Linked DNA regions of Homo sapiens: region 1 is linked to region 2. Evidence: promoter capture Hi-C in human tissues and cell types (Jung and others, 2019). All regions are on one chromosome and are shown on one strand. The core of a region is centred on a gene start or on the middle of the fragment in contact, and the rest is flanking DNA. Distances in the headings are between cores, read along the strand shown.

Region 1 (4,720 bases), core at 1,487-3,986, 320 kb after region 2:
GTTCCTCGGATGGGTGTTATTGGGTCACTGTCAACTGAACATGAAATCAGAATGTTAACCCTTTCTCTCATTTCCCCTTATAAACACACTGGGGTTCATGCACCTGCCTGAAGATGAGTCTTTCAGTCTCCTCGGCTTGTGGACACAGAACTGATGCTACAAAGAGATGTTAAAGTTGGAAAACTCAGGCTTGCTCTACTGCTGAGCTTGAGTGTGGGCTACTGAGCCTCTTTAACTTCTCCTAGGTATCTCTTTTCTCCCCCTGTGAATAGCTAAGGCAGCTTTAAGTCTCTCTCTCTTGCACACGCTTCCATAGTGACACATACACACCACACACACACACTCCGAAGTACCTAAGTGCCATTTCACAGAGTTACACCCTAGGGTATGCAGACACCAAAACTCAGTATTTATTTCCTTTAACTTTTTCTCCATACTCATGTCATTAAATCAATGATGATTTCATTTTGGGGATGAAAATAAGCTATTCAGGCTGGGCGTGGTAGCTCATGCCTGTAATCCCAGCACTTTGCGAGGTCGATGTGGGTGGACTGCTTGAGCTTAGGAGTTCAAGACCAGACTGGGCAACATGACAAAACCATGTCTCTACTAAAAATGCAAAAATTAACGGGGCATGGTAGTCCCAGCTACTTGGGTGGCTGAGGCATGAGAATCGCTTGAGCCCAGGAAGTAGAGGTTGCAGTGAGCTAAGATCATACCACTACACTCCAGCCTGGGCAATAGAGCAAGACCCTGTCTCAAAAAAAAAAAAAAAAGAAGAAAAGAAAAAGAAAATAAACCATTCAAGCAGCAAAAATTACTTGACAATTACTACTGAAAGAAATAGTACATATGTAGGGAATACCTAGTGCAGTGCCATGCTTATTATAGATGCTCAATAAATGTCAAGCAAATTAAATTGAAGAATTCTATTATACTTTTTATGACAGTATGTGCTTAAATCTCTAAAAACTTAAAAAGATTCAGCTGAAAAACAAGTCAAACTGAAACTCATGAACTTTATCAAGGTTGCACTATAAATTGCCAATTGATTTATGTTATTTTAGTGCCAACTAATAAACTGGGCAGGATACCTGGCAATAGATCACTTACTGTTTTAGAAATAAGATTACTACTGCTGGGATTATGGTAAAGTTCACTGACAATAAGTTTGTCCTTTTTTATGAAATCACTTAAAATTTATGTTGAGATTTCAGTTCCAATTGTATACCTTACTCAGCTGGAGACAAGGGTTCAGGCAATGTCCCACCAGGCTGCCAAACATGTCTTCTGAAACCTGAGACACGCATTATTATGCAGCAGGGAAGCATAAATGGCTGCACCTCTAAACAATGGTGAAAGAGACTGGATCCTGCTATAAATTGTGCTACCAGGCCCAGAACATAATTCTCAGGCATTACAACTGACCACTGAATGGATGAACAGCAAAATAGTTTAGCAAATGTTTAGTGCTTATGACATCAAAAAGTTTTCTCTAAAGGCCTTTTAAAGAACTTGTGAGAGTATACATGTACGTGCATTTTTAGCAGCACTGACTATGGGTGTGTAAGTTAAAATGTTAAAATAGAATTTATAAACTATTCTATATCATAAAACTTCAAAATGCTATCAGATTCCCAAATGTTTATAAAAATAATGAATGGCTGACTAACCATTTTGCCAATAAGCAACAGGCAAGCAAATGATAGGGCTTGCCTGTGTGCAGCACACGCTCAAACTTTGATTCCCCTATTAGTATTTTCAGCTTCCTTAAAAAGGGCGTTACATATATATACACACATATAAAATAACACAAGGAGAATATCTATAAGTTGCATTCTACTTCTATTATCCCATTTTGCTGTACTATGGTCTCCAATGATTCCCTTTACTTACTAAGGCATAATCTTTCTAAAAAGCCCTATTTTCTTGATAACAACTTTCTTAAGTCACAAGCTGGCACTACAAGGTAAACAAATGTAAGTTAAAATATTGAAAAAGTGCTCTTTTATAAGGCAGCATGAAAAAGCTTGGTAAGGAAGGATGTAAACAGCTTAGAAAATGTATGCTGAAAAAATTAAAATGAAGTTTTATGCATTTAGCTATTTTTTCCTATCTTCCTTTGCCAAATTTCCTCCCCTCTCCTTCCCTCCCCTCTCCTCCCCCCCCGCCTTTTTTTAAATAACAGAGTCTCACTCCATCACCCAGGCTGGAGTGCAGTGTTACAATCTCGACTCACTGCAACCTCTGCCTCCTGGGTTCAACTGATTCTTGTGCCTCAGCCACCCGAGTAGCTGGAATTACAGACTTGCACCACCACACTCAGCTAATTTTTGTATTTTTAATAGAGATGGGGTTTCACCATGTTGGCCAGGTGAACTCCTCAACCTCAAGTGATCCGCCTGCCTCAGCCTCCCAAAGTGCTGAAATTACAGGCATGAACCACAGTACCTGGCCTCAATTTTCTTTTAAATCAACATTATTGAATACAATAAACTTCATCCATTTAAAGTGTACAAATTAATGAGTTCTGATATACATATATCAGAACTTTTTATCAAGGTTGCACTATAAATTGCCTGTGAAACCACCACTATAGTCAAGATTCAGAACATTCCTAACCCCCAAAAGATCCCTCCCTTTGTTCCTCACCTCAGGGACCACTGATCTGTTCTGTATTGTTACAGATTAGTTTGCATTTTCTAGAATTTTATATAAATGGAGTTATACAGTATCTGCTTATTTAGCATAATGATCCTGAGATTTATGCATATGGTTGAATATTATGCTTCATTCTTTTTATGGCTTAGTATTGTATAAATATACACTTCGTTTATCCATTCACCTGCTGATGAATATTTGCATCGTTTCGCAGTTTTTGGCTACTGTGAATAAAACTGCTATAAACATTCATGTACAAGTCTTTGTATGTTTTTTCATTACTTGGGTAAATATTTAATACCTAGGAATGCAATTTCTGGGTTGTTTGGCAAGGGTATAGTTAACTTTAAGAACATTCCAAAGAATTTTCCAGAGTGATTATACCACTTTACATTTCCACCAGCAGTATATGAGCATTCTGGTTGCTCCACATCCTCACCAACACTTAGTAGGTCAGTCTTTTTAATTTTAATCATTCTGAGTGTGTAGTAGTATCTTATAGGGGTCTTAATTTGCATTTACCTGATAACTAATAATGCTGAACACAGTTTCATGTGCTTATTTGGTCATGCCAAAACTTTGTGAAGTGCTTGGTTTTTGTTTTTATTTTGTCCATCTTTTAATTGGGTTGTCTTACTATTGAAGTGTTCTTTATATATACTTGAATACAAATCCTTTATCAGATATATGTATTGCAAATACTTTCTCCCATTCTATGGTTTGCATTTTCATATTCTTAACAGTATCTTTCCAAGAGCAAAAGTTTAATTTTGAGAAGATCAATTTTTATACTTTGTACTCTTTATGTAAGGAAATCTTAGCTCAACTCAAGCTATGAAGGTTTTCACCTAGGTTTCCTTCTTCAAGAGTAACGGTTTTAGCTCTTACATTTAGGGCTATAATATATTTTTTGTTAATTTTCATATGCTATGAGGTAGGAGCTAATGTTCCTTTTTTCCATATAAGTATACAGATATTTATTTTGTTGAAAAGACTTTACTCTCCACTGGATTGCTTTGACACATTCATTGAAAATCAATTGCCCATAAATGTTTGAGTCTATTTCTGGACTCTTGATGCCAATTCCATTGACCTATATGTCTACCCTTCTGTCAACATCATACTGTATTACTGTAGCTTTATAGTAAATCAAAATCAGGTTGTATAAATCCTCCAACTTATTCTTTGTTTCAAAATTCTTTTCAAAAATCTACCCCTGATTCCTTAATGATTTTAATATTCTCAGAGATTCATTCATTCATTCATTTTTGAAACATGACTTACTATATTCCCTACTAAGCCGGCACTATGCTAGACACAAAGGATATACAGTTGACCCTTGAACATGGATTTGAACTGCGAGGGCTCACTCATATATGGATTTTCTTTTGCCTTTACTACCCCTGAGACAGCAAGACCAATCTCTCCCTTCCTCTACACCTCAGCCTACTCAGTGTGAAGATGACGAGGATAAAGACCTTTATGATAATCCATTTCCACTTAAAGAACAATAAATATATTTTCTCTTCCTTATCATTTCCTTAATAACATTTTCTTTTATCTAGCTTATTTGAATTGTAAGAATATAGTATATAACACATATCACATACAAAATAAGTGTTAATTGACTGTTATTGGTAAGGCTTCCAGTCAACAGTAGGCTATTAGTAGTTAGCTTTAGGGGAGTCAAAAGTTATACACAGATTTTCAACTGTGAGAGGAGTTGGTGCTCCTAACCTCTGTGTTGTTCAAGAGTCAACTGCAGCACAGGTTGAGCATCCTTAGTCAAAAATCCAAAGTCCAAAATGCTCCTAAACCAGAAACTTTTTGAGCGCCAACATGCCGCCACAAGTGGAAAACTCCACACCTGACCTCAGGTGATGGGTTGTAGTCAAAACTTAGTCAAACTTTGCTTCATGTACAAAATTATTAAAAATATCGTATAAATTACCTTTAGGCTATGCGTATAAAGTGTATATGAAACTTAAACGGATTTCGTGTTTAGACTTGGGTCCCATCCCCAAGATATCTTATTATGTATATGCAAATATTTCAAAAT
Region 2 (4,490 bases), core at 638-3,137:
AGGGAAGGAGAAATATTAAAGAACGTGATTATATCCAGTTGAAGGTTTTTCCTCCTTCCTCCCCTACAGAAACAAATTCCTATTTATTGCTGGGTATCTGGCATATAGTAAGTGCTAAATAAACATTAGTTGATTCAACAAATGGCCAAGTTCTCTTTGCATTTCTTGCTTCTGAAAATCAGTTTGAAGCTGCCTTATATCTTTTCTGGAAAGCAGTAATAAATCGGGTTAAATCATAATCTCCACAATATGTACAACTATGCATTGAATGAGTTATTCCTAAATTAGGCAGACATGTTCAACAATAAAGTGTATCAGAAAGTGAAGGAGCTAAGATATGAATAGATAGAACCTATGAATCTTCCCAAGGAAAGCAACACAGTACGGCAGAAAGAGCGCTCGCTGGACTTGGAGTTGGACAACGTAAATTCAAATCTCAGCTCTATCTCTCAGTGGCTGTGTGGACTTGGGACCACATTATCATTCTAAATTTTATCATTTGTGAATTGGGGAATACCATCACTCTCCTCCCAGGGTTGTTGGGAAGATTAAACGGGAATTCAGCCACCAGTATGCCATTTCTGCCCCGGGTGGAAAAGATTCAAAAATAAGACACCAATTGTCAGTAATACAAAGTGGATGGATGCAGTGGTGGACACAAAGCAAACACTGAAGGGGAGACGATGTACGGGGGCAAAAGAAAGAAAAACATTAACAGCTAGGTTGTGACTTGGTGTTGGGTGTGTTTTCACAGAAGGGAGTCGCCAGTCATTCCTATAAAGCAGTCTTCTAAACCAAAGGATAAAGGTGTGGTAGGCTATCTTTTGAAGTGAGCATGTAAAATTCCTGGAAGGAAAAGTAATGAAGAGCTAACGGTTCTTGGAAAGAGGTTCTGAGAAGTGACTGGGATTTATAACAAGATACTCTTTTACGCAGAGTTGTGAAGTGGAAAGAACTAAACTGGAATACCAGCTCCAAGTATGACCTTGGGCAAGTTACTTAACCAATCTAGAGTCTCAATTGCAAAATGCAGATAATACCTCACAGGATTGCTGTAAGATTAAATAAGATAATGGATAGGAAAGCTGTTAATGCGATACAAATAACAGGTATCATTAGGAGTTACATTCTCCACCCACTTACAACATTATATGTCCATGACCTTGGGCGTGATTTCAGCTCTTTGCACCTCGGTTTCCTCATCTATAAAATGGGGAGGATGATACCATCTACCCTATAAACACTCTGAGGATCAAAGGAGACCATAGATGAGACATCAATGCCTTGAAAACCGTACAGTGCTAAACGTATAGAAACTGCCATCGTTGCTGATACATTTGATGCATGTCAAGGGCCGTGTTTATGCAGGGAAGCACGTATTTTTATGCTATACAGGTGAGGAAGCCTCTCATGCATTTATGCATCCAGGAGTGGGGCACGGGGCACAGATGCACATCTACGGATTCCGGGGGTGTGACTTGCACGCTTGAGAGGAGGACCGGAGGTCAAGCTGCTGGGCCAGGAATCAGAGGAGTGGGCGCTACAGTGGGGGTAGTGGGATGCAGGATGCATGGATGGAAAAGGCTGGGGGCACAAACACGCATGCCCAAGCCGGAAACGTTTTCGGGGGAGAGCAATGCGCATCCCCGGAATGAGGGGGGTGGGGAAGGATGCGATGTGCAAGCACGGAGGGCGGCCCGGGGGTGCGATACCGCACGCCCGGGGCCAGGACTCTTTACCTTGTCGCTGTAATCCCTCAGGACCCGCTCGATAGCCCCTGCTTCGCCGGCCCGGACGATGTAGAGGGCGCGCTCCTCATCCATGGCCGCAGGTGCGGGGGAGCCGCGGCCGCTCTGCGCGCCCAAGCCGCTGCCTCCAGGTAAACGCCTCGCGCCCCCGCTCGCTCCTTCCCAGCTTCCTTCCTTCCCTCTTTCCCTCCCTCCGTCCTGCCTCCAACCCGCCAGCCTCCGCCCGGGCCGGCCCGACGTCACCGCCCCTCAACTTTCACCCCGCGACGTCACCGCTCCCCCAGCAACCGGCGCCTCACGGCCGCCCCTGACAAGGCCCAGGACTCGGTCGAGGCCTGGCTAGCGGACCGAGGCGGAGTCAGGCCCAAGGCCCTGCTTGCTCTCCTGCCTCTCCCTCCCTCGGAGAACTGTCCAGTCTTTTAAGGGGGCTTTCACAGACTGAACCGTTCTTCTTTCCTGACCCTCCTCTATGAATCATTCTCAAAGGACTAGAGCAACCCGGCTCTTCCCCGCCCATCTATGAACCAGCCGCTAAATGGACTGCAATTCCCTGCATGCAATGGGGCTATCCCGCTCTTCCATCTAATTTACTGGCGTGCCGAATGGCATGCTGGGATTGGTAGTCATCCAGCCGGAAAGAATTCCCGCCAAGGGCATGCTGGGAACTGTGGTACCGCGAGGGCCGGAAACGGGAGTCTGGCGGCCGCCTGAGGCCAGCGGCGGGGAGACCGTTAGAGGGAGGGTCTAAGCGTCTGCTTCGGTTTTGTTCGTTATGTCGCTGACTGTCCTGCTTCAGTCTCGGCTGGCTGGGCTGGCTGGACTGGCCGACGGTCGCGGAAACTGCCATCCCTTGGTGGGAACTGTCAAGCACGGTTTAATTCCCTTTTCTCATTTAGCGGTTTCGGTCTCGGGAATTCCTTCCACCCTTATTTGCGTTCTTGTTATGTACTCAGCTACAGTAATGTGGGAAATAATTGAAGGCAGTTATCTGGATAAAAGAGGACTCGGCGATTTTCTGCCTTAATACTAATCTCTAGCATGCATCTCGTGCCACCGGGGCTCCAGACTCTCTTAGGTAATTTCCCTATATCCTCTAATTCTCCCAACACAAATTTTTGTGGAAATAAAAAGGAACCCGAATAGTTTCAGTAATTTATCCTAAGTCACACGGCCAGAGAATGGGAAAGTCGAGGTTTGAAACCAGGCCTTTCCCCCCGAAGCGGCCGCTCTACGACCTCCGGGAACTGTAATAATACCGATACAGTAGCGGTGGTGGTGATGACAAAGATTCCCATTGCCCCGGTGGTAATTACGTGTCAGGCACTCTGTTAATACTTCACCTGTGTTAGCTCAATCAATTTCATACACATTCATTCAACAAATATTTGAGAGCCTGTGCTGTGCCCAGGTGCTGTTAAATGCAGTGTGGATACAGTGGGCCCAAAGTAAAGTCCCTGCCTTCATGGAGCTTCCATTCTAGTGAGCACCCATATGAGTTATTCTCATTTTAAGATGAGGAAACTGAGTCTTGGAGAGGTTAGTTGGTTAATTTATCAAAATTGCAGATTTTTGGAAACTGAATTTGAACTCAGAGCCTGTGCTCTTTCTGCTCTCCCAAGCTTTTTTTTGATGGAAAGTGGATGAATTCTCCAAGTAATTTCAAGTTTTCCATTCCAAGCAGCCTTTACCCATAATCATCCTTGATGTCTCCCCTACCAGTCTCTCCCTCTTGAGCTGTGCTGAAGAGGAACTAGAGGGGGCAAAAGTTTATTTATCTAATGATTGAATTTCTTCTATGCTGTGGTAGATATTCTGCTAGATACTGGGAATTCGGAAATAAGAACGAACATGGGACCTGAGTTTATGGAGCTTTTGGTCTTTCTGTATATTATACTTTCCATGCAGCAAACATTTATTGAGCATATTTGAGTCAGGCATTGGGGTAGGTGCTCTGTAATAAATTAAGTCAGAAAGATTTTAATCCATCTCTCCAAAAAGCACATTTTAGTAAGGTCATGGAATAGTTAGCTAATTTTCTAAGCTAATAGTAACATCTTGCAATTGTTTTTAACAGTTTACAGAACTTTTTAATACTTCTAATCTCAATGGATCATTGGGGAAGGTATTGTTCCCACTTTATAGATAAGAAAACAGGGTCAGATGAGTTAAGTAACAAGAACTGGGACAAAAACTGAGAGCTGTTAACAAAGTATTTGGGTGCCTGCTCTGTGTCCAGTACAGAATTAAGTGCTTTGGGGGTATCCATATATTTATTTTTGGAGCAAGGGTCTCCCAGAGACGATATTAAACGAGCACAAAGTATCTTATTTCCGTAGAGATGTTTCTCTTTAGAATTCTTTTAGAAGGTCTCTGACATTTCAGACACATGTCTTTGAAATGTCTGTTTGCCAGAAATAGGCTATGTTTTTAGTCTCCAACTCTGTACTTCTAAAAAGAGATTTAAAAAATGTAAAACGAGATGAATTAATGACTTGGGAAGTTGTACTTTAGTAATTTTAATTAAATGTTCATATTCTGATTTTGTAACTCAAAGGGATCTTTGACTCTAATTCAAGTCATCTTTTGACCACTGACGAGACTCTGGTTCCAGAAAAATTAAGTGGCTTGTCCAAGGTCAATAGCAGACTCTGGGAATGGAGCCTAGACTAGCTGAGTCCTAGGTCACTACATCACTTTACCTCCTTGAATATTAGTTACGGGATACTTTCAGGGACTAGAGAC

The links. The method cuts DNA at HindIII sites, captures the fragments that hold promoters and counts their contacts. A contact is called where the count stands out against the background at its distance.
Region 1: a fragment that was not itself captured here is called in contact with the fragment with the promoter of RIC8B in region 2 in 1 of the 25 tissues and cell types used here (IMR-90 fibroblasts).

The regions. Positions count from the first base shown.
Region 1 is chr12:106,449,083-106,453,802 of GRCh38, reverse strand. All of the region lies in intron 19 of POLR3B (RNA polymerase III subunit B), which reads right to left. Among named protein-coding and RNA genes, the nearest start is that of POLR3B, 94 kb to the right of the region's middle. The HindIII fragment of the contact is 7,589 bases long and covers 1-4,720 here.
Region 2 is chr12:106,772,079-106,776,568 of GRCh38, reverse strand. It overlaps RIC8B (RIC8 guanine nucleotide exchange factor B), which reads right to left and starts at 1,887. Exons shown (of 10, transcript NM_001330145.2): 1 at 1,740-1,887. The coding sequence starts at 1,823. LOC100287944 (a long non-coding RNA gene) reads left to right here and starts at 1,738. Exons shown (of 4, transcript NR_040246.1): 1 at 1,738-1,879. RefSeq lists enhancers at 1,367-1,416, 2,187-2,738 and a silencer at 1,747-1,976. The HindIII fragment of the contact is 14,135 bases long and covers 1-4,452 here.